Regions from separate parts of the Homo sapiens genome. Here all the other regions are linked to region 5. Evidence: promoter capture Hi-C in 16 types of primary human blood cells and fetal thymus (Javierre and others, 2016). All regions are on one chromosome and are shown on one strand. Each heading gives the region's core, a stretch centred on a gene start or on the middle of the fragment in contact. The rest is flanking DNA. Distances are from core to core; before and after follow the strand shown. Region 1 overlaps ACBD6 (acyl-CoA binding domain containing 6). Region 2 overlaps ACBD6 (acyl-CoA binding domain containing 6). Region 3 overlaps ACBD6 (acyl-CoA binding domain containing 6). Region 4 overlaps ACBD6 (acyl-CoA binding domain containing 6). Region 5 holds the start of LHX4 (LIM homeobox 4). Region 6 overlaps ACBD6 (acyl-CoA binding domain containing 6).

Region 1 (4,478 bases), core at 53-2,552, 170 kb before region 5:
ATAGTGAGATCCCGTCTCGTGATAAAAAATGAATAAATAAAACAATACATTCACATGTGTAACCACCACCACCATACAACTTTTTTATCTTCCCCAATTGAAACTCTGTACCAAGCCAGGTGTGGTAGCTGATGCCTTAATCTCAGCACTTTGGGAGGCTGAGGTGGGCAGATCACCTGAGGTCAGGAGTTTGAGACCAGCTTGGCCAACATGGTGAAACCCCGTTTCTACTGAAAATACAAAAATTAGTCAGGCGTGGTGCTGCACTTCTGTAATCCCAGCTACTCGGGAGACTGAGGCAGGAGAATCTCTTGAACCCAGGAGGTGGAGGTTGCAGTGAGCTGAGATCGCACCACTGCACTCCAGCCTGGGTGACAGAGTGAGACTTTGTCTCAAAAAAAAAAGAAACTCTGTACCCATTAAACACCCCCCATTCCTCCCTTCCCCTGGCCCCTGGCAACTACCATTCTATTTTCTGTCTCTGAATTTGACTACTCCAGGTACTTCATTTAAGTGGAGTCATAACAATATTTGTCCCTTTTGACTGGCTTATTTCACTCAGTGTAACGTCTTCAAGGTTCGTTCATGTTGTAGCATGTGTCAGTTTCCTTGCTTTGTAAGATGAATAATATTCCATTGTATGCATATACCACATTTTGTTTATTCAGATATCCATTGATGGACACCTTGGTTTGCTCTTACCTTTTGACTGTTGTGAATTATGCTCTGAACATAGGTGTACAAATTTTTGTTTGATTTTTTTTCCCCAAGAATCTATTATGAAAAATGTTAAACATACAGAGAAGTTGAATTTTACAATGAACATCCGTATTTCTACCATCTCGATTCTACCATTAATATTTTACTATGCTTGCTTTATCAATATCTAGACATTCATCAAATCTTTTTTATTTTTTGATACATTTTGGAGTACACAGACAACAGTACACTTTCTTCTAAATATTTTAACATGCGTATAACTAACTAGAATTCAGTATTTGGTTTTTCTTTTAAAATAATATTTATATACAATGAAATGCACAAGTCTTAAGTACACATTTGATGAACTTTGACAAATACATATACCTGTGTAACTGAAGTGCCTATCAAGATATAGAACATTGCTGTCGCCCCAGAAAGTTTCCTCATGCCCCTTCCCAGCCACTGTTTTCTTTTAATCCCAAAAAGGTAACCACCGTTTTGATATTATTCTACCATAGATAAGTTCTGCTTGTTCTCGAACTTTATATATATGGGATTATACATATGTACTCCTCTGTGTAGGGCATCTTTCATTCAGCATAATGTTTTTGAGACTCATCCATATTGCTATAGTTCAGTACTTCCTTCTTTTATACTGCTGAATATGTTCCATCATGTGAATATACCATTGTCTTATGATGGATACCTGGGCTGTTTTCATGGCAACTTCCTATTATTATTGCTGTTAATTACCTCCTTTATACAGGATGAAATAATACCTCCCTTTCATATTCCTTCACCCTTAAGTCACTGACATTATAGCTTAGTAATTTCTTGTGAAGGGATTTTTTTTTTTTTCTTTTGAGACAGAGTGTCACTGTGTTGCGTAGGCTGGAGTACAGTGACGTCGATCACGGCTCACTGCAGCCATGACTTCATGGGCTTAAGTGATTCTCCTGTTGAGCCGAGCCTCCTGAGTAGCTGGGACTACAGAAGTGTGCCACCATGTCCAGCTAATTTTTGTAGAGATGGGGTTTCACCATGTTCCCCAGGCTGGTCTCATACTTGCCCGCTTTGGCCTTCCAAAATACTGGGACTATGGGCATGAGCCACCGCACCCAGCCAGATTTTTTAAAGTAGTGTATTCAAAATCTTTCTCAATTTCCTGACAAATAAGCAACACCATTTTCCCCTACCCTAGATCTTTGCCAGTGAAAGAGATCAAGATCCAGTAGTTGCTGATTTTAAGTGTGTATCACACATACTGGTGTGTGATTTTCTTTATAATGCTCGTAAGTAAATTATCCCACAAGCAGTCATTGGCTTCCATGCTAGGTATAATCTTGAGATGTTAGACTATCTTTCAATCTTATTCCTAAGTGCTTGAAATAACATTGTCATTTCACTATGGACAGGGAAGTGAAAGAAGGAGGCATTGTGTAATTTCTGGTGATTGCAGGTAGGGGAGTTCTCACTATGGCCAGCTGCTACAGTAGTAGCAGCAAAAGGTAGAAGATAGTACAGAGGAGATGGGGACATTACAGGTTGTTGGTAGTTGAAGTCAAGCTCTACTACAATTATAAATTGATACCCAATTTTTTTGCAGAGAGAAATTCAGATCTACCTGTTTGCAGTATTTCATTTGCTAATTAGACAGTACCATACCATATACTATATGTGTTTGATAGAATGACAGGACAACTCTTACAAATTTAAATATACCAAATTTGCCATGTTTTTATCTGTTATACGTATGGTATATGTACTTTGTATTTGATCTCAAAATATCATAAGAACATCAAGACTCATTTTATAATAGAATCTCCTTCCTTCCCTCCTCTCCCCTCCCCTTACCATTTTTTTTTTTTTTTTCTGGACAGAATTTTGCTCTGTTGCCCATGCTGGAGTACAGTGGCACGATCTCATCTCACTGCAACCTCCACCTCCCAGGTTCAGGCGATTCTCCTGCCTTCACCCTCCCAAGTAGCTGGGATTACAGGCACGCGCACCACCACACCCCACTAATTTTTTGTATTTCTAGTAGAGACAGCATTTCACCATGTTGGCCAGGCTTGTTGCGAACTCCTCACCTCAGGTGATCTTCCCTCCTCGGACTCCCAAAGTGCTGGGATTACAGATGTAAGCCACCGCGCCTGGCCAGAATCTCTTCTCTTTTTTTTAATTTTGTGATATTGAGGAGAAAAGTCTAATTAAAAAAAAATTCTACATGGTTTATGGACGAGTTACTAAGGAAATCAGAGAAGCATTTCATATATTAAGATGTGCTCTCTGTATTTTCCAGAAGGTATGAAAGTAATACCACTTAATAGGTTAGCTGCTACCCTGCACTTTCAAAGCACTTTAGAGTCATTCATCTGTCTGAGGTAGGACAGTGTTAGCACCCTTGGTTAATAGATGAGAACTCTTTTTCTCCCTGCATCTTACTGTATTTGAGTTTCAGAATTTATTCAGGGCTCTCCAGTGTTCGTGGTCTTCTGGTGGCCTAACAAAGGTTCCTTTTAATAATGGCTCTCCCTCACCAATCTCCTGAATACTTCTGGGATATTTTTCCAGAAGAGTTTTAAAAATTAGAAACAAAGAATTGTCACTTATTTTGGTAGCAATAAAAATAAATTTAACTTGAAAATTTATAAGAGATTATATCACTCATGGAAAAAGATAAAACAATTATATAGACAAATATGTAAAATAGTTCATAAATTTAGATAAAGTCTTAGAAGATATAGCTTTAATGCACACCTAAGTCATGGTTTTCCTTCTGGAGGAGAGATTTTGGAATTCTTTACCTAAAATAGTTTAATAATTGTAGTGGTCTAGGTGTGTTTGTGGTTAACAAAGAGAAAGGAAAGAAACCACAGGTGTTTATTTCCTGATTTTATCATGATTAATTATAAGGATAGCATCTCTGCAAATTACTGGTTATGTTAGTGAGTGAATAATAATCTTAAATTAGAGCATGTTTATAGGAATTTTATAATTTGAAGAAGTAAAAGGTATCACAGACACCTCATTTTGCTGGTTTTTGTTCATTTAAATATAGAGCATCTTGAAGGTTAAAATTCCAAAGCCTGATTTGTTTTGTCTGTGTTTATTTACAAGTATGTTTAATCCTACTCTTGTTTTTGAGCTTTTTAATACTGCATGGAATATTAATCATTAGGTGGTCTTAATGTAGATATCTTCAGTGCTTCTACAGAAAGTCATTGTCAGAGAATTCATTCTAATTCAAGGTTAATTAGTGTACCATTAAAATAATGTGTTACAAGAATTAATTGCATTGCAGGTCAGAAAATGTGTTAAAAAGTATGGTGTAAATGTCTGAGAGCACATCATCCTTCTTAAAACATTGCTATACATGTGCCCCGCTTCTGGAAAATATATCCAAAGTGAAAATCACTATGGAGGTCCAGTCATAGGTGTTTCCCCTAAAGTAAATTTTTGGCATCACATGGAAAATTTAAAATATGGGAAATTTAAAATATAACTCCCATTAACAGTAAAATGTGTTGCTTGTCAGCTTTACCATTGAAACAGCTAAGGATTTACATTTTAGCTTTAGTTGATATAACCCTATTGGGTCAAACCTAAGGAAAATTCAGGAACGTGGCTGAGAGATAGAAATTATCTATACATCTTATGGTAAAAGTACAAGACATATTATGTTGTCCTACTTAACTATTACATAGTTTTTGTAAGTACCCTATGTAAATATATCACACATCGTCTTAACTATGTATAACTCTTGTCAATAGTTT
Region 2 (4,639 bases), core at 142-2,641, 200 kb before region 5:
AAAAATTAGCCAGGCGTGGTGGCGGGCGCCTGTAGTCCCAGTTACTTGGGAGGCTGAGGCAGGAGAATGGCGTGAAACCAGGAGACGGAGCTTGCAGTGAGCTGAGATCCTGCCACTGCACTCCAACCTGGGCGACAGAGCAAGACTCCGTCTCAAAAAAAAAATGCATCTGGTAGCCGGCCAGCCAGCCCTCGTAACCCAGCACCAGAGTACCCCAGATGGAAAGGCCAGCGATGTTGAAATCCGTGTCGCAGCCCAGGTTAATGTGCTTCTGCTTGTACCCTGTCTTGATTTTAGCTTTTTTTTCCCCAGTGTTAGGTGAGAAGGATGAATTGAAGGTAAGCTTCAGATCATGTGCAAGCTGACCTTCCACGGTAATCTCGGTGCCTAGTGTATTGTCGGTGTTCCATTTCTCTGTAAACGTCAGGCCGTACTCAGTCCATCTGTACTTGGTTTACAGACTGCCCATGACTTTGGTGGTCTCAATGTTGGCTGAGCCTGAGCTTGTAAATTCCAATTCATTCTCAGATTTTGTTTTCAAATCAAGCCAAATCCATAACCCTTGGTGAAGACATCCCTGGCAGATTTGCCAAGATTGGCATTCGTGGGTGGCACAGCCACCTTCGGCTTAGAGGCATTGGCAGCAGGCTCGGTTGCGGCTATGGCCTGTTGAGGTAGTTTTACTCTATTCCTAGTTTATTAATACATTGGTTTGGTTTGGAAAGACAGGACAACTCGAAGCAGTGACTTATCATAGGTAGATTCAAAGATTTTCTGATTGGCAGTTGGTTGAGAGTTAAGTTATTATCTAAAAGCTTGGAATTAATAGAAAGGAATATCTGAGTTAAGGATTTGTGGAGACCAAGGTTCTTACTATATAGATGAAGTCTCATAGGTGGCCACTGTTAGATGCAATAGATGACAATTGTTTCCTATTCAGATCTTTAAAAGATTCTTCAGATCTCTCAGCTAATCTCTTTAGGATCAGAAAAAGACCTGGAAAGGGAACAGGATTCTTTACATAATGTAAAATTTCCCTTTTAAGAGATGGCTTTGCAGGGCCATTTCAAAATATGTCAAATATATTTTGGGATAAGATATTTTGATTTCTTCCAGGGTCTGCTCTCTGTCATGTGATGCTATACTAGAGTCAGGTTGGAATTTGATATCTTATTGATACAAAGAGTCTTTTTTGTCAGTTGTGAGATCTCTGTTTTAATGTTAATGCTGGTCAGTTGTTCCTGAATGCTAAAGGGAGGAAAGTATAATGAGGCATGTCCAGACCCCGACTTCCCATCATGGCCTGAACTAGTTTTTCAGGTTTCTTTGGAGAAACCTTAGCTGAGAGGAGGGGTTCATCCAGATGGTTGTAGGGCTTAGAACTTTATTTTTGGTTTACAAGGAGATGTGTAGGGTGAGGCATGGAGGAAGGGACATGGCGCTTTCATGATCTCTCTGGGCATGCCACCCTCCAGGAACCTCCATGTGTTCCACTATCCCCAGGCTCCCAGCACCCATTCCTCTTGGGTTTCATGATGTCAGTATTCCTTCCCCTAGGGTATAGGGCAGGACTCTCTCTCGGGATTGTGACCCACAATCAGAAAGGGTAACCTGGGGCAGGTAAAAGGAGGGCAGGAGAAAGTCCCATAGATTCTCTTTCCTGAGGCTTGCTCCTGAGGCCTGACACACCTAATTATGTAACGAAAGACTGTAACAAGGGCAATAGGAGTTAGAAACCAGGAACCATGGACAAAAACAAATCTCTTTTGTGCGCACTCTCTCACTCTCGCTCTCTCTCTGTACACACACACACACACACACACACACACACACACACACACACACAGCATAACACCACAAATGCCTTTTATTTCTTGTCTGATCGCTGTGGCTTGGATACCATCTTGAAAAGAAGTGATGAGAATGGATATCCTTGCCTTGTTCCTGATCTTAGAAAGAAAGCTTTCAGTTTTCCACCACTGAGTATGTTGTTAGCTGTGGCCTTTTCATATATAGCCTTTATTGTGTTGAGGTAGTTTTATTCTATTCCTAGTTTATTTAGTGTTTTTATCATGAACACATGTTGAATTTTGTCAGATGCTTTTTCTGTATCAATTGAGATGATCATGTGGGTTTTGTCCTTCATTGTATTAATATGCTGTGTTATATGATTGATTTTTGTATGTTGAACCATCTTTACATTCCAGGAATAAATCCCAGTTGATCATGATGTATAATCCTTTTAACGTAATGTTAAATTCAGTTTATTAATATTTAGTTGATTTTTTGGATTAATATTCATCAGGGATATTGGTTTTAGTTTTCTTGCAGTAGTTTTGGCTTTGATGTGAGGATAAGACCTCATAAAATGAGTTAGAAGTGTTCCCTTTTCTTTAATTATTTTGATGTATGAAGAGGATTGGTGTTAATTCTTCTTTAAATATTTGATAGAATTCTCCAGTGAAGTGATCTGGTTCTGGGCTTTTCTTTGTAGGGAAGTTTTTTTTTTTATTACTGATTCACTCTCTTTCTTGGTGATAGGTCTGTCAGATTTTTGATTTCTTCGTGATTCAGTCATGGTAGATTGTATGTTTCCAGGAATTTATTCATTTCTTCTAGGTTATCCAGTTTTTTGGCATGTAATTGTTCATAGTTATCTCTTATGATTCTTTGTATTTCTGTGGCATTAATTGTAACATCTCCACTTTCATTTCTGAGTTATTTGACTCTTCTTTTTTCTTAGTTAACCTAGAATAGCTCATTTCTTTGTGTTGCTGAATAATATCCTATTTTATGGGTGTATCATTTGCTTATTAATCTATTTAAGGACATATTGGATTTTAGCCATTCCAATAGGTGTGTAGTGGTTTCTCATTTTTGTTTTCATTTGCATTTCTTTAATGACATGATGTTTAAACATCTTGTCACTCGCTTATTTGCTATCTCTGTATCTTCTTTGGTAAGTTGTCCATTTAGATCTTTTACTCGTTTTTCATTGGGTAACTTATTTTCTTAGTGTTGAGTTTTAAGAATTCTTTGAATATTTTGGATACCAGTCTTTTATTAGATAAGTGTTTTGCAAATTTTCTTTCAGTTTATGGCTGGTCATTGCATTGTCTGAACAATATCTTTCACAGAGCAGAAATTTTCAGTTTTAATAAAGACCTACTAATCAATTTTTTTCTCTCATGGATTATAAATTTTTTTTTTTTTTTGAGACAGAATCTTGCTCTATTGCCAGGCTGGAGTGCAGTGGCGTGATCTTGGCTCACTGCAGCTTCTGCATCCCAGGCTGAAGCAATTCTTGTGCTTCAGCCTCCTAGGTAGCTGGTACTACAGTCACGCACCACCATGCCTGGCTAGTTTTTTGCATTTTTAGTAGAGGTGGTATTTTGCCATGTTGGCCAGGCTGGTCTCAAACTCCTGGCTTCAAGAGATCCACCTGCCTCAGCCTCCCAAAGTGCAGGGATTATAGGTGTGAGCCATTGCACCTGGCCTGTCATGGATTATACTTTTGATATTGCATGTAAAAAGTCATTGCGAAACCCAGTATCACCTAGATTTTCCGCCATGTTACCTTCTAGGAGTCATTCTTTTTTAAGAAGCTATGCTTGCCACTTCATACTTGGTTCTATCTCTATTTTTTTTCCTTTCGTATCCAGTTTTCTCATTTTTAGTTTTATTTATTTAGTTATCATCTCGAGCGCCAAGTATGTTTTAGTTTTATCCTATCAATGGAACATGTATTTGGAATATAATTGGATTAAGTAAAATAAGTTCTCCCTTTGTACACGTTCCTCAGCTTATAATGAGGATACATACTGGTAAATCTATTATAAGTCAAAAATATCATAAATCGAACCATTGTAAGTTGGGGATCATCTCTACTTTTTTTTGGTATAAAGAAATACATTATCTATCCCAGAAATTCTTCATAGCATTTATTCTCTAAAAATGGCCCTCAGAGCACAGAGAAATCTGTCATTTACCTAGTGCTTCTTGTTTGCTAGCATCATACTAATACACTTTATATACTTTGTCATTTAATCATGTTAATAGTTGTCGTCTATGATTTTATAACTTTGTTTCTATTACAAGTTGATAACTGACTTGATTCATCTCCTCAAAAATTTACAACATTTTTTGAAACCTTAGTTCCCCCAGTAGTGTTAGGAACAGATAGAATATGCTATCTCCGGGGAAGGGGGTCTTTTTCCTCAGCCCAGTGATCCACAGACTGAAACAAACAATTAAAAAACAAAACAAAACTCGTACTTCTCTTAAGTACTGAAAAAATGTGTATGGGGATTGACTGTATTTTATTTGAAGTAAAACTAGTCTTTTTGCAGTCAAATTAAATAATAATGTAATTTTGATTCTAAGGGAATATTTATGTCCGGAATCAGAGTTTTGACTTTTGCAGGGTGTCCTGTACTAAACGCTGTCAATACATGGGGTTTTGCAGAGGTTGCACTTTGATCCTTGCAGACAGTATTATCCAGGTTCATTGCTTCCACATTACATGTTTTAGAAGAATCTTATTACTAAATTAATTTTACTCTTGTGTGTTTTGAGAACATAGAGGGGCAAGACGTGTTGAATCCTTGAGTTTGGAAAGTATTTCTGTGCAGTTTGCTTC
Region 3 (4,564 bases), core at 1,971-4,470, 130 kb before region 5:
ATGTATTTTGCAGGAACGTGGATGGAGCTGGAGGCTATTACCCATAGCAAACTAATGCAGGAATAGAAAACCAAATACTGCACGTTCTCATTTATAAGTGGGAGCTATATAATGAGAATTCATGAACACAAGGAAGGGAACAATAGACACTGGGGTCTGCTTGAGGGTGGAGGGTGAAGGGTGGGAGGAGGGAGAGGAGAAGAAAAGATAACTGTTGAGTACTGGGCTTAATACCTGATGAAATAATTTGTACAACAAACCCCTATGACACGAGTTAACTGTGTAACAAACCTTCACATGTACCCCCAAATCTAAAATAAAAGTTTTTTTAAAAAGGAAAGAAATGTATCCCCCTCGGATAGAAGGGGACTGCTGTACCAATACTTTAGTATTATTTAAGTCCTGGAACTTGGAGTCATTTTGTAAGTATTTGTTGACTAATGAAACAAATTTATTCATTCCCTTATGCAAAGAAATCTCTACATCTGCAAAAACATAGGCAGAGTTTCTGGGCTAACAAAAAGACAAATGCCAATGCAAAGGAAGTCTGAAAATTGTGAACAAAGATTATTAAACCAGTATTTACAGATCGAACATTTTAATCACGTTTCTATTCTGCAAAGTATGTTTTTCTGTATTAGCTCATTTTATCCTTACAGGAATCTGTGTAGCATTATCTTCATTTTACAGTTGAGGAAACTAAAGCTCAGAGAGGTTATGTGAATTGCTTGAGGACACAAAGCTAGTAAGTGGTATAACCAGGGTTCACAGCCCCCTGGTATTTTCACTGCAGATTCCACCCTTTTTTTCCTGCATTGTGTTGCCGTCATAGTTTATCATACTGACTCAGTGCTTCTAGAATTCATAGCTATCGGATGCATTTTATGAGGATATAGTAATAAGTTCCTCATATCTTCTATATTATATATAATGAAATTCATATATGTAGATGACATTTTATTCATCAGGCTTTTCCTTTCAGTGTAACTTTTAACCCATATTCCTATTCACAATTTTGTTTAATCAGTTATTTCTCTGTCATTTTTATATTGAATAGTCACTTCCTTTGCTAAGTTTATATCTGAGAATGAACAGCTGGCTCACAGTACAGTGTGAATCAAGTTCAAATTACTCTGAGTTCAGAGAACACCCAGTGTCATCTTATTTTTACATCTAACTGAATTATAGGACACTGTCAAAGTGTTATGACCTGCTATAGTAAATTGCTCCTTCTTAATGGTCCCCTGGCTACATTCTCTCTTGGTACTGCTATTAACCAGAAATTGTTGACATTTTGCACTATTGTAAGCTTGAAAACAAAAGAATTAGTTTTTATCCCCAGGAAAACCTACCGTCTTCACCATAAAGGTTTCTAAATGTCTAAGCTACCTACAACTGAATCATAACATTTTGTAGTCTAAAGTTGATGGTACCCTCAGAATTGAATTAATTCTGTAATTCTTTCAATTTTTAAAATGTCAGGCAATTCTTCCTCATTGAATTCAGGAAATTAGTTAATCATCTGCCTTAAAAGAACTAACTTGTTTGAATGTTGAACTGGTGGCTCATTGATGGTTTCTGAGATGTACTATTTAAATAAGTATGTGCATGTTATAAAATATATTTGGCTATGCCTAGTGTTGCTAAATTTTAAATGTTCTTTTAAATGTAACATTATAAGAACCAATTAATGATGAAGGAATTACACAGAATAACAAAATGCTTGCAAATGAGACCAAGCAATTTGCTTAGTTATACTAAGTAAACAGAGTAAGTTCTAGAAATGGTCAATATTGCTTTTGATCAAACTGATATACTCAGAGTGATTAATGCCTGAAAGATGGGAAAAAGATAAGAAAAAAAAGACTCTTCAAAGAAAAGTAATTTTTCCGTGAAATAATTATAGAATATGGAGCATATTTAAATATACTTATGGACCATATGCATGTATACATGTATAGAGATTGTTTATGCACAAATATCATCAGTAGAAAATTTGACGGCTATTGTGGACCGTAGGTAAACAATGAGATGGCAATGTAGTGTTGCTCTTACAAAGCAAATTTACTGCTGCCATTACAGTAATAGGAATATAATCTATAAAGGCCAGGGCAAAGTACTGTTATATACATAGCAATTATTAGGATGTAATTAATATAAAACATAAAGCTTAGATTTTTGTATTTCAAAAAGGATGTTGATAAATTTGAAGACTCCAGAGAAGGATTTTTTAAAATCAGTAGTTTGGAAATGGAGTTTTTGAGTAAAGTCTCATGGTCACAAAACAGTATAAGTCATGTGCAGCCCATAGATCTGTTTTTGTTTGACACCTGTAGTGTTAGTCCACAATTTATTTATAATTAACTGTCAGTTAATTTCATATAAAAGTACAGATTTTAGACTTCTCTTGAAAAATCTGCAAATATGGCAATCGTGGGCACGTTCTTCTATCAACTAGAGCTGAGTACCTACTGCCCTCTGTTGACAGGCTTTGAACTCTTCAGTTTCCCTGACCCAGTTGACCTCAGTCTTTTATATTTTTGCCTGAAGACTTTTGAGGAGTTTATAACCTTGTGTTTGGAAAGACTGTGTTTGGAGTCACGTTACCTGAATTCCAATTTCTATTCTGCCACTAACTATGACCTTGAATAAATAATAATTGTAAAATCTTAAAAGTAGGAATTGGCCAGGCGCGGTGGCTCATGCCCGTAATCCCAGCACTTTGGGAGGCCAAGGTGGGCGGATCACGAGGTCAGAAGATTGAGACCATCCTAGCTAACACGGCGAAACCCTGTCTCTATTAAAACTACAGAAAATTAGCCAGGCGTTGTGGCACACGCCTATAGTCCCAGCTACTCGGGAGGCTGAGGCAGGAGAATCACTTGAACCCAGGAGGCAGAGGTTGCAGTGAGCCAAGATCGCGCTACTGTACTCCAGCCAGGGCGACAGAGCAAGACTCCATCTCAAAAAAAAAAAAAAAGATAGAAAGGAATTTAAAGATCATCTGGTTCAACTCCCACCTAATGCAGGACTCCTCTCCACTAAATTTCCAAAAGATGGTTAAGCCAGCTAGCCTGTCTGAAGATTTCTGTTTACTTCACAAAATAGCCTATTCTGTTTCAGAAAGTGCTAATTATTAGAAATTTCTCCTACCTGTTAAATCTATGTCTGCTTACCTATAACTCACTCTCGTTTTAGTTCTGACTCTTAAAACTATGAAGAAAAGTTGTATCTCCTCCCTTCCAGGTGTCAACCGTTCTGTTATTTGAAGACAGTAGACATTTTCTTCCTAAGTCTTCTCCAGACTAGTTTCACCAACCTAGTGGCTCATTACTGAATCAATGTCCCTTTTTAAACATGTAACACTAAAAATGTACATTATATAAGATGTCTTATCACTGGTAGGGAACAGAGTAGAGCTGTAACTTAATAGATGTGACATCAAAGGCAAGGTGTCTGCCTTTACTGTTCCTCTTAAAGTGTAGCTTATTTGTAAAATGTGCTAGGCCATCAATAAGTGAATGGTTTTATAGCAAATCACTGTATAGATGTAGATATTATATTAGCCCAATATTAGCCAGACAAGTTATAGAGTTTCTTTGTAGACTTAGTGCCCAGTCTTTATTGTAGCATTGTTTTAAATATTTGCCATCCCTTTTTTTAAAAAGGTAAAGAAAAAGCAGGAAAAAAGGCTTAGACACATCTTGTATTCTTGTTGGTATCATGGCATTTGTCAGTGTGTTCATACTTTTTAATTTTCTAGTACTTGCCGACTTAATCCCATGAGCTTACTTCTAATATCAGTAAAGGGTATGAGCTGTCTATGTGGTTCAAGCTGCCACTTGAGGGTTTCTCCATTTTGTGGAGCTTTCTAATGGAATTCAAGGTTCTCTCTAAGGATGAGCATTACAAAGCCTTCCCTGGCTGCTGTGGGAGGAGGAAGTGCACCATAGGTTCAAGGACACATGTGAAGTTTAATGTGCACAAGCATGCTCCCGCTCCTGCTCCTGCTCCTGCTCCTGCTCCTGCTTACTCTGATTGGCAAGGTTAACTCTGAGAAGCTGCTGCTTTTTTAAGTGATTTGATTAGACCCATCACTTCATTCCTTTCAGTCCTCCCTCCCAAGGACCAAACCACCACTGTCTTTGCAGTCTTTGCTTTGCCCGTTACATTTTCTCTCCTTTTTTCCTGCTTTTTCATCAACTTTTAACATTTCGTAAAACAAAATAAGGAACTCAAAAGTAAACTAACTTGCCTCACTGAAAGCTTTGACATGAAAAATTTCCATACTTTTGTTTTCTACACTTGTAAATTACAAAACTTTTATTTCATTTTCACTTAGCTCATAAGGAAAAATAGAATTATTATTCACATTAGTTCACTTAGATAATTCCACAGTCCTCTATCAAAATTTATTTTGTACATAATGAATTCTTTCCTCACAATCGTTTTAAAAATAACCTTTTAATTACAAAAACTTCAACGAGGTACAAAAATAAAGAGAATATCTAGTTTCAGCAATTACCAATTTGTGGCCAATCCTGTTTAATCTGTACTGCTATCT
Region 4 (4,857 bases), core at 1,107-3,606, 220 kb before region 5:
CGAAAGCCTTTTCTGCATCTATTGAGATAATCATGTGGTTTTTGTCATTGGTTCTGTTTATGTGATGGATTATATTTATTGATTTGCATATGTTGAACCAGCCTTGCATCCCAGAGATGAAGCCAACTTGATCGTGGTGGATAAGCTTTTTGATGTGCTGCTGGATTCGATTTGCTAGTATTTTATTGAAGATTTTTGCATCGATGTTCATCAGGGATACTGGCCTGAAATTTTCTTTTTCTGTTGTGTCTCTGCCGGGTTTTGATATCAGGTTGATGCTGGCCTCATAAAATGAGTTAGGGAGGTTTACCTCTTTTTCTCTTGTTTGGAGTAGTTTCAGAAGGAGTGGTATGAGCTCCTCTTTGTACCTCTGGTAGATTTCGTCAGCTGTGAATCCGTCTGGTTCTGGCCTTTTTTGGTTGGTAGGCTATTAATTACTGCCTCAATTTCAGAACTTGTTATTGGTCTATTCAGGGATTCGACTTCTTCCTGATTTAGTCTTGGGAGGGTGCATGCGTCCAGGAATTTATCCATTTCTTCTAGATATTCTAGTTTATTTGCGTAGAGGTGTTTATAGTATTCTCTGATAGTAGCTTGTATTTCTGTAGGATCAGTGGTGATATCCCCTTTATCATTTTTTGTTGTGTCTATTGAATCTTCTCTCTTTTCTTCTTTATTAGTCTTGCTAGCAGTCTACTTTGTTAATCTTTTCAAAAAATCAGCTCCTGTATTCATTTATTTTTTGAAGGATTTTTCATGTCTCTATCTCCTTCAGTTCTGCTCTGATCTTAGTTATTTCTTGTCTTCTGCTAGCTTTTGAATTAGTTTGCTCTTGCTTCTCTAGTTGGTTTTATTATTATTATTATTATTATTTAATTTTTTGAGATGGAGTCTCACTCTGTTGCCCAGGCTGGAGTACAGTGGCATGATCTCGGCTCACCACAACCTTCGCCTCCTAGGTTTCAAGTGATTCTCCTGCCTCAGCCTCCCGAGTAGCTGGGACTACTGGCACGTGCCACCATGCCCAGGTAATTTTTGTATTTTTAGTAGAGATGAGGTTTCACTATATTGGCCAGGCTGGTCTCAATCTCTTGACCTCGTGATCTGCCCACGTCAGCCTCCCAAAGTGCTGGGATTACAGGTCTGAGCCACCCACATAGTTGTTTTAATTGTGATGTTAGGGTGTCGATTTTAGATCTTACCCGCTTTCTCCTGTGGGCATTTAGTGCTATAAATTTCCCTCTAAACACTGCTTTAGCTGTGTCCCAGAGATTTTGGTACGTTGTGTCTTTGTTCTCACTGTTTTCAAAGAACTTGTTTATTTCTGCCTTAATTTCATTATTTACCCATTAGTCATTCAGGAGCAGGTTGTTCAGATAGAAATGACCCCTGAAAGTATAGTCTTTCCTAGTTTTTTTAAATGTAGTTTACTGAACACATTTTTTCATTTTTCTCTGCTTTTTAAATTGAGACATTAAAATTCACCCACTGTGTTCTCCCATTTAAGTGTACAATTCAGTGGTTTTTAGCATATTCATGAAGTTGTACAACCATCATTACAATTCATCTTAGAACATTTTCATCCCCTCAAAAAGAAACTCCATACCCTTTAGCTCTTAGTTTCAGTCTCCTCATTTCCCTCAGCCCTAAGCAACCATTAATCTAGTTTTTGTTTCTATAGATTTGCCTATTCTGGTTTCAAATGGGGAATATCACATGTAGTCTTTTATGACTGACTTTTTTTATTAGTATGTTTTCAGGGTGTTCTTTCACATTGTAGCATGTATCAATACTTCATTCCTTTTTATGGATGAGTAGTATTCTATTGTATGGATATGCCACATTTTGTTTATCCATTCATCTTTTTTTGGACATTTGGGTTCTTTCCACCTTTTGGCTATTTTGAATAATGTTGCTGTGAACATTTGTGTGCAAGTTTTTGTGTGTACATATATCTTTATTTCTAATGGATATATATCCAGGAGTGGAATTGCTGGATCGAATGGTAATTCTGTGTTTAACTTTGAAGAACCATTGGACTGTCTTCTAAAATGGCTACAACATTTTATAGTCCTGTCAACAGTGTATGAGGGTTCTGATTTATTTTCTGCCTTTTTGATTGTAGCCATCCTAGTGGGTCTGAAATGGTATCTTGTTGTGATTTCAATTTGCATTTCCCTGATGACTGATGATATTGACCACCTTTTAATGTACACATTGGCCATTTGTATATCTTTTTTAAGTTACATTTCCCTTTCTTGTTGTAAGCTTGTAATCTCATTATTAGAATGAATTTATTGGTTATTTAGACTAATTTTCTGTCTCCAGATTATTCTAGCATACAGTCTTTTAGCTTCTATTGGAAGACTCTTAATGAAGGGAAATTTACTATTTGTGAAGAAATTGGCCCAATTTTTGAAGAACTCCAGTTGTTAGAAGCTTCTTTTTATATTAAGCCAAAATTTATTTCACTGTTTTGGTATCGTTATTGTTTTCTACTCTGTTATATTTTTGCTTTTTAGGCCCACATAGACGATGTTCAGTTTTTTATATGAGTCTTTCAGAAGTTTTTTTTTGTTTGTTTGTTTTGTTTTTTTGACAGAGTCTCACTGTCGCCCAGGCTGGAGTGCAGTGGCGCAATCTCGGCTCACTGCAAGTTCCACCTCCTGGTTTCACGCCATTCTTCTGCCTCAGCCTCCCGAATAGCTGGGACTACAGGCGCCTGCCACCACGCCTGGCTAATTTTTTTGTATTTTTTAGTAGAGACGGAGTTTCACTGTGTTAGCCAGGATGGTCTCGATCTCCTGACCTCGTGATCCACCTGCCTGGGCCTCCCAAAGTGCTGGGATTACAGGCATGGGCCACTGCACCCGGCCGAGTCTTTCAGAAGTTTTAAGGCAGCTTTTAAGTCTCCTCATCTCCAGACCAAATATTTCTGATTTCTAAAATTGTTCTTCATCTTCTTCACCATCAAGTCCCACTACCTTCCCAGTCATTCTTGTGTGAACAAATTTCAGTTTCTCAACACCTCTTTTAGAGTATGGCCTTTGGAATTGAACAGACTGTTTTAGGCATAGTGTGACCACTACAGAATAGAACTTTTCTCTCTTTAGAACACTATACTTGCACTGATTGTGGCTTAAAATTACCTTAACACTTCTTGCAACCACATTACAATGTTAATTATTCTTTAACTTTCAGTAAACTAAAATCCTGTCTTTTTTTATACATTCTGTTATGCAATGTCTGTTGTGTACTAAGTTCAATACTTTATGTGTACCCGTATTAAATTTCATTTTATTTTATTCAACATCTTATTCCCACATTGAAGATTTTTGGGGTGGGGGGGTCCTGAATGTGACATCTAGTGTGTCAACTGTCTTTCATTGACCCTGTCATCCGGAAATTAGATTAGCATGCTTTTTTTTTTAAGTTTTTTTTTTTTTAATTTAAGTTCTAGGGTACATGTGCACAATGTGCAGGTTTGTTACATAGGTGAACATGTGTCATGTTGGTTTGCTGTACCCATTAACTTGTCATTTGCATTAGGTGTTTCTCTTAATGCTATCCCTCCCCCTGTCCCCACCCTACAACAGGCCCCGGTGTGTGATGTTCCCCACCCTGTGTCCAAGTGTTATCATTGTTCAATTCCCACCTATGAGTGAGAACATGCGGTGTTTGGTTTGGGAGGCCGAGGAGGGCAGATCACTTGAGGTCAGGAGTTCAAGACCAGCCTGGCCAACATGGTGAAACCTTGTCGCTACTGAAAATACAAAAACTAGCCGGGTGTGGTGGCGGGCACCTGTAATCCCAGCTACTCAGGAGGCTGAGGCAGGAGAATCACTTGAACCTGTGGTGGAGGTTACAGTGAGCTGAGATCACACCACTGAACTCCAGCCTGGGTGACAGAGTGAGACTCTGTCTCAAAAAAAAAAAAAAAAAGTGCGAGTTGTAGGTCAGTGATATGTTGCTCCGTTTTGTATCCATATGGGTTGCTTGCACATTTAGTTTATGGAATGTAGATAATGAATCATAGCTTCAAGAAAGTCTAAGAAATAAGATTTTGAGAATTCTGCTTTAGAAGTTGGGATTCACAATTTCGGAAACTATTAAAATGTTGAAATAGTATTCATACTTTGGTAAGCTACAAATAACTGATGTTCACTGAACTTGTGTTGTCAGTCTCTAAATCTCTCTTTCATGAAATCATGCAACTAAGATAGTTGCATGGAGACAAAAATAATGGAAAAGAGAATGGAATGGAAACATACCAACTTTAGCAATACTAATCTATTTATTTGTGTATTCCTATTCATGTGTTACATTAAAAATTATTTATGGTATTTTAATTCTGGGAAGATGGTAGTGGCTGTAGCATAGTTTTTGAATAGTCCTCCTTCCTTAACAGAATAACTAGGATAGCATAATCAAAAGCTCTTGAGCAATATCTGTAACAAAATTAGTTGATTAGAGAAAATAGGGACAAACCACCAACAGCTACCAGATTTATATTTTAAAAAAAATGAAAGAAAACAGATTTGTGTGGCATTGGCATCTCTTTAGAAGGAAGCAGAAGGAAGCAGTAGAGTACCTATGAGTACCTTACTATCTTGAGAATGGCAGATTTCTAAAATAGCCAACAGGTAAAGCTAAAAGGGGTTTTTATGCACTTCAATTCATGGCTGAGTACAAGAGGTTCATGGTAACGTTCTCTAGAGCTGCCTGGGCTCTAAGCTTCTAAAATTAACTAGCCAAAACTTTCTTCCAGTATAAAGCTTCATACTAAGAGCAATCTACTAGGAATTTAATCAAAATCAAGTAGGACAACAAGGACAATAAAGACAAAAGGAAAAAGAA
Region 5 (4,974 bases), core at 198-2,697:
CCACTAAAGAAGTCGCAGGCGGAAGTACAACCCCTTGGCAAGCGGAGCGAGGAACTCCTTGGTCTCTCCAGGGTGCCCGGGGCGCCCTGCTGAGCGTGCAAGCCACAGGGGCAGGACTCTCCCGGCGCTTGTCGCGCGCGCGCGCGCGCGCGCGCGACGACTGGGCACCTGTTCTGGCCTCTGCACAGATTCCCTCTCGGGGACTCTCGCTCAGGAGTGAAGCACAGAGACGGATTCCCTTCGGGAAAATCTCTGCGCGCGCACACCCATACACACAGAGAGAGACTTGGGGATAAACACGCCGCGAGCTCCGGCTGTCTCGCTAATTTCGGGCGCGGGAAGAAAGCGGGCGGGCAGGCTAGCAAAGCTCCCACACACCCCCGTCTCTACCCCTCCAAACCCGAGCCACCCTGAGCACCTGCCCTCGCGTGCGCAAAGGCTGAACCCGGAATTCACAACTTGCGGTCGCTTCTCCCTCCCCTGCATTCCTAGGCTAGCTGGAATGCGCGAGCAGATTCCCTCACAAGGAGCAGTCAGTTTCCCGCGGCGCACGCGGCGGGCGCCGCGGGCAGTAGCGGCTGGGGACTCACCCGGCACGCACGCCCGGGGCGCGGGCCGCAGGGACTAAGAGTGTGGCCGGGGCTTCTCCGCCGCCAGCCCCAGGGGCGAGAGACGCGCTCTCCAACTTCCCGCCAGCTGGGGTGAAGTTGCACTAGCGGTCCTGCAAGCGCTGACCGTCACGCCGGCGAAAGAAGATTTGTGGGGACCACCCTCGCCCTCAGGCCTGGCCTACAGCTCGTACCCCTGGGTGTCCCCAAACAGCACTCTCCCCAGCGTTCCAAGAAAAGCCTTGGGCTGGAGATGCGGGGTTCGGTACTCGGCTCGCCTCAAGCATGATCCAGGAGGCGTTCACATTCGGCCCCAAACAGCCAAGAGCCTGGCCCCCTCAAACGCACTCTGGCTGGTGCCCCTGCCCTGTGACCGCCTCTGCGCCCCGGCCGCCAGCCCCTCCCGGCCCCTGAGCGGCGTCCGGCCCGCCCCGCAGCGGCTGAGGCTGCTAGCTGTCTTGTTAGAATTAAATCAGCGAGAAAGGGGGGTGTCTTACGTTGCATCGGCACACCTAGCATCTCCGGGAGCCCCTTGACAGCCCCTTCCGCGGGGACAGTCGCACTCTGCATCATCTCGGAGCGAAAGCCAGCGAGTCGCAGTCTACGGAGATCTCTCGCTCTCTCGCTCTAGCTCGATTCAGAAATTTCAAAATAATAATTAAAACCCCAAGCAGGCCGCTGGAGTCACGGTGGAAGCCGGGCCCTCCGCTTCTCAGGGAGGACTCCACAGGCTGGCCGGCCCCCTCCCCCCGCCAGTCCCCAGTCTGTTTCCAGTCCCTTTGATCTCGCTCTCCGGGGTTGGTGCACATCCCAGGTTGAGACGCTGTTGCTGCAGCTCTGGCTTTTTTCCTCTTCCCTCCCCCGCCCGCTCCTTCCCCCTCCCCCTCCACCCTTCGCGTGCCGGCCGCCCGGGAGGCCGCGGTCACCCGGGCGTTTTGATTCATTCACACTGCAGGAGCGGCCGTGACGTCGCTTTCCGCAGGGAGGCCCGCCCTTCGGCACATCCCCCAACCCGGCGGCGGGCAGCCGACCCCGGAGGGAGTGGGGGTCCCGGCGCCCCGAGTGAGGCCGGCGGGGCGGAGGGGGGCGGGGCGGCAGGGAGCGGGGCGGGGCCTCGCAAGCCGGCACCCCCCCCCCCTCCCCGCCTCCGCCTCCGCCTCCGCCCAGCCGTGGCGGGCTCGCGCCCTGGGTATAAATTCTGCTGATGGCCTGCCGCGGCAGCAGGTGGTCGGAGACGGCGGCGCCCTGGGTTTGCGGGTCTTCGTGGGTTCCAAGCCCGCGCGGCTCGTGTCCTCCTCACTCCTCCGTTCGGACCCAGGGGCGGGGCGGAGCCGAGCCGGGGCCGAGCGGGGCAGGCGGTCCGGAGGCCGGGGACGGGGCTGCGTCGCTGTGTCTTCGCCTTGCGCGCTCTCGGTCCCCGGCTTCGCTCCGCCGGACGGAGCGCGCTCCGTAACCGATGACTCCATCTATCTTCCTCCTCCTCTTTCCCCTGGCCAATTCCTTTCCTGCCGGCACTTCCCAGCCCCTGCTCTCTCTCCCCCGCGTCTGGCTGAGGCTGGGCCAAGGGACAGCCCGTACTCGGCCCGGAACGCGCGAGTCACGCGGCGGGCGGCGCCGGCCCGGGCTGGGGAAGGGGACCAGGGGCTGTGCGCGGAGGTGGCGGGACGCAGGCCCCCCGCGCGCGTCCCCGCAGACCGCGGCCTGCAGCCGGAGTCCGCACTTGCCTCCAGTTCCGCAGGGTAGGGGGCCCAAACCTCCCCGCGGCGGGGCCTCCCCGGCCGCCCTGCCACCAGTCGTCCAGCTCGGCCCTGTCTTAGGTCCCTAGAGCCCGCTCTGCCTCTCCGGCTGCCACCGCGGGTGCTTTGAACCATCCGCGACCTCGTGCGTGCAGGGCGGCAGTGAGCACACGGACGCCGGGGTTAACCAGCGAAAGGGCTTGCCATGCTTACTGTATTTACGAGATGCATGGACAGGTAGAGAAACGCTTAAAACAAATTCTCCTCAACGCGAGTTTCTGGCAGAAATACAACAGAAGGCCCAACGCTGGGACGAGGTCTCCTCTGACGCTCCATCAGGCGCTCGACGCCTCCGGGCTGCAGGCGCGGGAAGCCCACCCCGTCTGCCCCAAGACCCAGCCGCTCTCCTGCCCCCAGCCCCCACGGCATTTCCTTCCAGAAATGCAGACATACGTGTCCTTCCAGCCTAGTGGGGTTCAGCTTAGGCGGGAAGGGGGACTGTGTGCCCTCCCCAGCCTTCCAGAACCTTCCCTGCTGTTTCCCCTGGTGTCATCTCCAAACAAGGGACACCTGCTCACCTTTAAGGGAGGAGCATGGGGCGGGGGAGAATGGCCTGGTCGTCTGCGCTGCTTAGAATTTGTCTCCAATGAGGTCACAGTGACTTTTGTGTGTCCTGGTACTGGGTTGGCATCATCTCTTCCCTTGTTTACCTGCGAGGTGACTCCGCGCGCGAGACAATATACACAAGAAGAAAAAAGCAAAAGAACCCAGTGACATTTTTAGTGTTTACCAAAATGTGTTCTATAGAAATATAACTAGTAAGCAAACACGGGGAAACGCCAGCCTCATTTGCAGTGAAAAACACGCAAGACAAAACAACACGTGCACAGCTTTTTCTGTTTGTGAGATGCCCGACGCGCGGGAGGGGCATCCTAGAGTTCAGGACTGGCGAAAGGGGCTTGGACACTCACCAATACTGCTGGGTGCTTATAAACTCTTAACATCCGTTTGGAAAGAAATTTGGCAATATGTATCAAACTCATAAATTTTTCATACCCTTTAGTTTATGTAGTACTTTTGAATGTCTGTTCCACGGAAATAATCTAGAATTTTTTATAAAAGTTTCATGCGTGAAAATGTTTATTACAGTATTATGTTTTGGAGAAAAATAACCTAAATAGCCAACAAAAGAAAAGTGGCTTAGGGAAGTAGATTAAATTGTTTGGTAGTATGTTATGGAATCATGGAAACCAATTATGAAACCCAATAACATGGGGATGCTTGTGAAATACTATTTTTTTTAAAAGCACAATGCAATAGCATAGGATTATAAATATGTAAAAATCTTAGTCAAATGTAAGGGCAATGATAATACCCATTGTTGGTTAGGCTGTGGGGAAATTAGAAAACAATTTCCTAGTGGGGATTGCAAAGAGGGGAAATGTCTTCTCAGGACGTTTTGGCTACAAATGTGATGCATTTGACCCAATCTCTATAGAAATTTATCCAAAGAAAATAATCAAGAATGTTTGTGAAGATGTAGTTACAAGGATGTTTATAAGGTTTTTAAAAGGGAAAACCTAAATATCCAACAATAGGGGATAGTAAATAAGTTACAGTAAATTATTAAGTAAAATGGAATGTTATGAAGTCTTAGAAATAATACAACAGAAGAATATTTAATGTAGAAAAGGGTTTGAGATTTATTAGGAAATGTGAAAAAAGAATATGAAGCGGTATGAACTTCAGGAACTTTTCTTAAAAAAAGCATAAACACTGTACACTTAAAAATGGTAAAGATGGTAAATTATATGTATATTTTACCTCAATAAAAAATTGTTTAGGAGGAGTAAAAAAAATGCCAAAGTGTAAAAGTGGTTATCTGTGCAGTGGATATTTTATTTTATTCTCTTCGCTTTTTTCAGTTTTCTCAATGAGCACATTATTTTATAAAGCAGAAAAAAACTAATAAAATGCTTTTTAAAATATTAGGGAAAAGGTAAGGAAAGATACCAAAATACTATTCAAAAGAATATTTGGAAAAAGGTATATTAGGGAGATGTATTATGGAATTTTTTCCTTTTTCTCTTTTCCAGATTTTCTGTAAAGTGATTATTTTTCAGTAACATTAGTAAAAGATAACATTCAAATGCAGTGAATGTAAAGCATATATAGTAATTACTTTTATAATTTAAAATTATATTTTAAAAATGCTCTCTGCAGCTCCTGCTTCTCTGATTTGAACCTGCTGGGGTCCTGCCCTTTTCCCATTGCATGTCACTAGCCTGTCAGTAGGTGAGGAACAGCCTTACTGTGGTGGGGACTTATCTCTGCCCAAGACTGATTCAGGGGATACCACTTTCACCTGTGTCGTTTGGCAGACAAGCCCAGGAAAGTCAGCTTAGCTCTCAGTTCTTGCACCTGTAAGCAGCAGCTCCAACATACCTTGCACCCCCATGCCCACACACACAGTGCAGCTCAGCCAATAAATGCCCTTTCCACATTCTGAGGCTTTTTTTTCTTTCTTTCTTTTTTTTTTTTTTTGAGACGGAGTCTCGCTCTGTCGCCCAAGCTGGAGTGCAGTGGCGTGATCTCAGCCCACTGCAAGCTCCACCTCCTCCCGGGTTCAC
Region 6 (4,518 bases), core at 1,492-3,991, 250 kb before region 5:
ACAGGGTTTCGCCATGTTGCCCAGGCCAGTCTCGAACTCCTGGACTCAAGCAATCCACCCGCCTCCGCCTCAAAGTGCTGGGATTACAGGCGTACCTGCCATACTGCTTGTATTTTCCTACAAATATATGGGGTACCTGTGAAATTTTGTTACATGTATATAGTGCTGTACTGATCAAATCAGGGCATTTCGGGTATCTGTACATTTTTGTCAAGTGTAGTCCCTCTACTCTGCTATCAAACATTGAATTTATTCCTTCTTTCTTACTGTATGTTTATACCCTTTAACCCACTTCTCTTCATTTTCCCCTCTTCCCCCTACTTGCCCCTCCCAGTCTCTGTTATGTGTCTTTCCACTCTCTACCTCCATGTGATCAAATTTTTTAGCTCATATATATAAATGAGAACAAGTGATATTTGTCTTTTTGTGTCTGGCTTATTTCACTTAAGATAATGACCTCAAGTTCCATCCATGTTGCTGCAAATAACATTTCATTCTTTTTTATAGCTGCGTAATATTTCATTGTGTATATATACCACATTTTATTTATTCATTCATCCGTGATAGACATTTAGGTTGACTTTTTATCTTTGCCATTGTGAATAGTGCTGCAATAAGCATGCAAGTATTGATTTCTTTAGAGAAGAGGCTTTAAATGAGATTGATGAATATTTTGTTTGTTTTTAGAGACAAGGTCTTGCTGTGTTGCCCAGGCTGGAGTGCAGTGGTGCAATCCTAGCTCATTGCAGCCTCAAACTCCTGGGCTCAAGTGATCTTCCCACCTTGGCGTCCTGAGTAGCTGGGACTACAGGTGTGTGCCATCACACCAGCGAATTTTCTTTTTCTTTTTCTTTGGTAGAGATGGGGTCTTGCATGTTGCCTGGGCTGGTCTTGAACACCTGGGCTCAAGTGATCCTCCTGCCTTGGCCTCTCAAAGTGCTGGTGTTACAGGTGTGAACCACTGTGCCCAGCCAAATGGATATCTGAAATAGGCATTTCTCTAGTATAAACTTCTTTTTAAAAAAGGGATTTATAGGCTGGGTGTGGTGACTCATGCCTGTAATCCCAGCACTTTGGGAGGCCAAGGTGGGCAGATCATCTGAGGTCAGGAGTTTGAGACCAGCCTGACCAACATGGTGAAACCCCGTCTCTACTAAAAATACAAAAATTAGCCAGCAATGGTGGTACTGTAATCCCAGCTACTTGGGAGGCTGAGGCAGGAGAATTGCTTGAACCTGGGAGGCAGAGGTTGCAGTGAGCCGAGATTGTGCCATTGCACTCCAGCCTGGGCGACACAGCATGACTCCGTCTCAAAAAAAAAAAAAAAGAGAGATTTATAGAGCGGGAAAATTTTGCTTCAGGAACGAGGCAGAAAGTCCAAAATTCCTTGTCTAGGTTGTATTGTTCTAAGTATTATAAATTGAATTGTTGTTTAATTCAGTGGACTATAGAGGGCAGTGTTTCACAGTTTAAAGTTACTGATTTTTCTGTGAAACTAAATACACTTCAATTATGCTTATTTTGTGTATTTCTCTAATAGACACACAATAAAAACTATAAGATTAGAAATTATTTTTTAGCTGTACTTAATAAATAAAAATACATTTTAATGTAAAATTATAATAATTTCAATAAAGATAATCTTATTATCTTTACATCCCAAAATGATGTACTTTTGGGATAATAGATTAGAATTAAAAATGACTTTGTTTTCTTATTCAATCCATGTAAGTTAAGAAAAATAAGCATCATATGGTGATCTAAATTTATTAGAAAATTTAGAGAAAATTAGTATCCTGTGCAACTAAAATTTTCTTTTGCAAAAGAATTTTTTTTTTTTAAAGAGATGGAGTCTCACTATGTTGCCTAGGCTAGACCTGAACTCCTGGGCTCAAGTTATCCTCCTGCCTCATCCTTCCAAGTAGCTGGGACTACAGGTGCACACTGCCTTGCCCAGCTTGCAGAAGACTTTTTTAAGACTTCTTATTTGTGCATTAGAGCAGAATAAGCTTTTTGCAGATACAACAGTTACACATTTTAGTAGATTAATTGAATTATGATGTTAAAGCTATAGCTAAAAGAAATAATCTAGAAATAGTTTCTTTCCTGATTTTAATAAAACATTTCTGACTTATTTTAGTAAAAAAGTAACCTGTGTGTATTAGTTGGGAATTAAGAACTAGAACTGCATTTTATCTGTTTTTTAAATTATAAGGAGATTATTTTTTCTACTGAAAAAAAAATTCGTTCTAATGATAAACTCTATTATGACATGTTTTGTTACTAGGAACAGAGATTGATTATATTTTGGGCCAAATTTATTAACCTCCATATAGAGGTAATTTTCAGTACAGAAAAGCATGGTGTGTTATTAAAAACATTTAATGGTCTATCCTACTGACTTTATAAAGAGTTATGCAATATTTAGGAACTGTAGGATTCTTAATGCTTGTGTGTATGCTCTTATATGTGTGTATGTGTTTGTTAGTGGTCCCTGTTTGTGGTTTAAAAATGTATAGCAGTCCTCCCTGATCTATAGTTTTGCTTTCTGAGGGGTTTCAGTCACCTGAGGTCAACGGTGGTCCAAAAATATTAAGTGGAAAATTCCAGAAGTAACCAATTGATAAGTTTTAAATTGCATGCCCTGTTGTGATAAAATCTCTCCTGTCCCACTCCATACATCCCTTTGTCAAGATGTATCCATTACCTGTTCCTGTATAGGAAAAAACATAGTGTATATAGGGCTCTGTAGTGTCTACAGTTTCAGGCATCTACTAGGGGTCTTAGAATACATACCCCATGGATAAGGGGGTATAATGTTATACAAAGCATTATATTGTGTAATGTTTTGGTTAGCTTCAGAGGGGAACTGGTTAATAGATATATAATCTGATATATTCATTGGATATTTTCACATTTCTTCCATCCATGTACTTGTGTTGTTTTTGAGTTTTCTTGTTTTTTTTGTTTGTTTTTGTTTTTTGTGCTTTTTTTGAGACAGAGTCTCACTCTGTTGCCCAGGCTGAGCGCAATGGCATGATCTCAGCTCACTGCAACCTCTGTCTCCCGGGTTCAAGCAATTCTCCTGCCTCAGCCTCCCGAGTAGCTGGGATTACAGGTGCCCGCCACCACGCCCGGCTCATTTTTGTATTTTTCGTAGAGACGGGGTTTCACCATGTTGACCAGGCTGGTCTCAAACTCCCGACCTCAGGTGATCCGCCTGCCTTGGCCTTCCAAAGTGCTGGGATTATAGGCGTGAGCCACTGTGCCCGGCTGAGTTTTCTTGTTTTATTTGCCAATTGTACTTTTAAATTTTCTTTTGTGATACTTGTCAGTTGAGGAAAAGAAGCATTGTATTAGCCTATATGTGTGCATAGGCAAAAACCTTTGAGTGACAACTTCATTCTTTTTTTAAAAAAAAAAAATTTAACCCATTTATGCCTAGTGTTCCATTATTGGAATGCAAAGCTTGTGGGAGTTATTTACATCCTACTGCTCAAGGTCATTGCCAAGGTCTGATTTTCACAAAAAAAATTTTCAACCTCCGGCATAAATGAGTTAATAATATAACTTAAACAGAACGTGTGAATGCTTTTTGGCTTCACATTCCATCTTTAAATAACACCATAGTTTTGCATCAGAGATCTCAAATGATTTTACCTGGGGATAAACTTCTAGTCTTTTCATTGGTATTGGTGGGATTGGGTTGCATTGGAACCAGATTCAGATTTTGGTATGTGATAGTTGTTTGTTTTGCTATTTTCCCCTAGCCATAATATATACCTGAGTGCCTAGACATGATAAATGTTATCTTCCAGTTGTCCCGTTTTTCCTTAGGTTGAATTTTAATATATTCAATAACAAATTTAGTGAAACTCTTAATAATCCATGTTGTTGATTTAAGTAAAAGGGAAAATGAAAAGTGCCCCACCAACTCTTTCTAGGTGTTATAGCATTTTCCATCATATGGTAAACACTAGGTCATTTTACTTTATTTTTTTACATGAATGTTCATAGTCGCTTTATTTATAATAACCCCAAACTGGAAACCAAAATTTCCATCAACAGGAGAAGGCTAAACAAATTATGGTGTATCTACAGAATGGAATACTAAATAGGACCAAACTATTGGTATACATAACATGGTGGCTCATGCCTGTAATCCCAGCACTTCGGGAGGCCAGGATGGGAGGACTGCTTGAGCATAAGAGTTCAAGACCAGCCTGGGCAATACAGCAAGACCTCATCTCTACAAAAATAAAAAATTAGCTGAGTGTGGTGGTTTACACCTGTGGTCCCAGTTACTCAGGAGGTTGAGATGGGAGGATCGCTTGAGCCCAGGAGGTTGAGGCTATAGTGAACTCTGATCATGCCATGGCACTCCAGCCTGGGCCACAGAGTGGGACCCCATGTCAAAAATAAATAAATAAATAAAATTCTAGAAAATGCAAACTACAGTGACAGAAACCAGATCAGTGGTTGCCCGGGGATACAAAGTAGGAATAAACAGCAGGGATT

What was found. Contacts are between HindIII fragments. The CHiCAGO score rates a contact against its expected background, and 5 or more counts as called.
Region 1: a fragment that was not itself captured here is called in contact with the fragment with the promoter of LHX4 in region 5 in 2 of 17 cell types (neutrophils and M2 macrophages); the score reaches 6.7 in neutrophils.
Region 2: a contact is called between a fragment that was not itself captured here and the fragment with the promoter of LHX4 in region 5, in 4 of 17 cell types (neutrophils, M0 macrophages, monocytes and 1 more). The highest score is 7.0, in neutrophils.
Region 3: a fragment that was not itself captured here is called in contact with the fragment with the promoter of LHX4 in region 5 in 1 of 17 cell types (neutrophils); the score reaches 5.3 in neutrophils.
Region 4: a contact is called between a fragment that was not itself captured here and the fragment with the promoter of LHX4 in region 5, in 4 of 17 cell types (M1 macrophages, M2 macrophages, M0 macrophages and 1 more). The highest score is 6.7, in M1 macrophages.
Region 6: a contact is called between a fragment that was not itself captured here and the fragment with the promoter of LHX4 in region 5, in 8 of 17 cell types (endothelial precursors, M0 macrophages, M2 macrophages and 5 more). The highest score is 8.4, in endothelial precursors.

What each region holds. Positions count from the first base shown.
Region 1 is chr1:180,399,885-180,404,362 of GRCh38, reverse strand. All of the region lies in intron 5 of ACBD6 (acyl-CoA binding domain containing 6), which reads left to right. Among named protein-coding and RNA genes, the nearest start is that of MIR3121, 36 kb to the left of the region's middle. The HindIII fragment of the contact is 7,851 bases long and covers 1-4,478 here.
Region 2 is chr1:180,430,782-180,435,420 of GRCh38, reverse strand. All of the region lies in intron 3 of ACBD6 (acyl-CoA binding domain containing 6), which reads left to right. It also overlaps the pseudogene VDAC1P4. Among named protein-coding and RNA genes, the nearest start is that of MIR3121, 5.3 kb to the left of the region's middle. The HindIII fragment of the contact is 1,147 bases long and covers 818-1,964 here.
Region 3 is chr1:180,363,153-180,367,716 of GRCh38, reverse strand. The region is part of intron 6 of ACBD6 (acyl-CoA binding domain containing 6); the gene reads left to right. Among named protein-coding and RNA genes, the nearest start is that of MIR3121, 73 kb to the left of the region's middle. The HindIII fragment of the contact is 2,097 bases long and covers 2,172-4,268 here.
Region 4 is chr1:180,448,496-180,453,352 of GRCh38, reverse strand. The region is part of intron 3 of ACBD6 (acyl-CoA binding domain containing 6); the gene reads left to right. Among named protein-coding and RNA genes, the nearest start is that of MIR3121, 13 kb to the right of the region's middle. The HindIII fragment of the contact is 171 bases long and covers 2,271-2,441 here.
Region 5 is chr1:180,226,737-180,231,710 of GRCh38, reverse strand. It overlaps LHX4 (LIM homeobox 4), which reads right to left and starts at 1,447. Exons shown (of 6, transcript NM_033343.4): 1 at 1,106-1,447. The coding sequence starts at 1,181. RefSeq lists a silencer at 1,877-2,006. The HindIII fragment of the contact is 8,200 bases long and covers 1-4,974 here.
Region 6 is chr1:180,475,301-180,479,818 of GRCh38, reverse strand. The region is part of intron 3 of ACBD6 (acyl-CoA binding domain containing 6); the gene reads left to right. Among named protein-coding and RNA genes, the nearest start is that of ACBD6, 25 kb to the left of the region's middle. The HindIII fragment of the contact is 1,459 bases long and covers 2,012-3,470 here.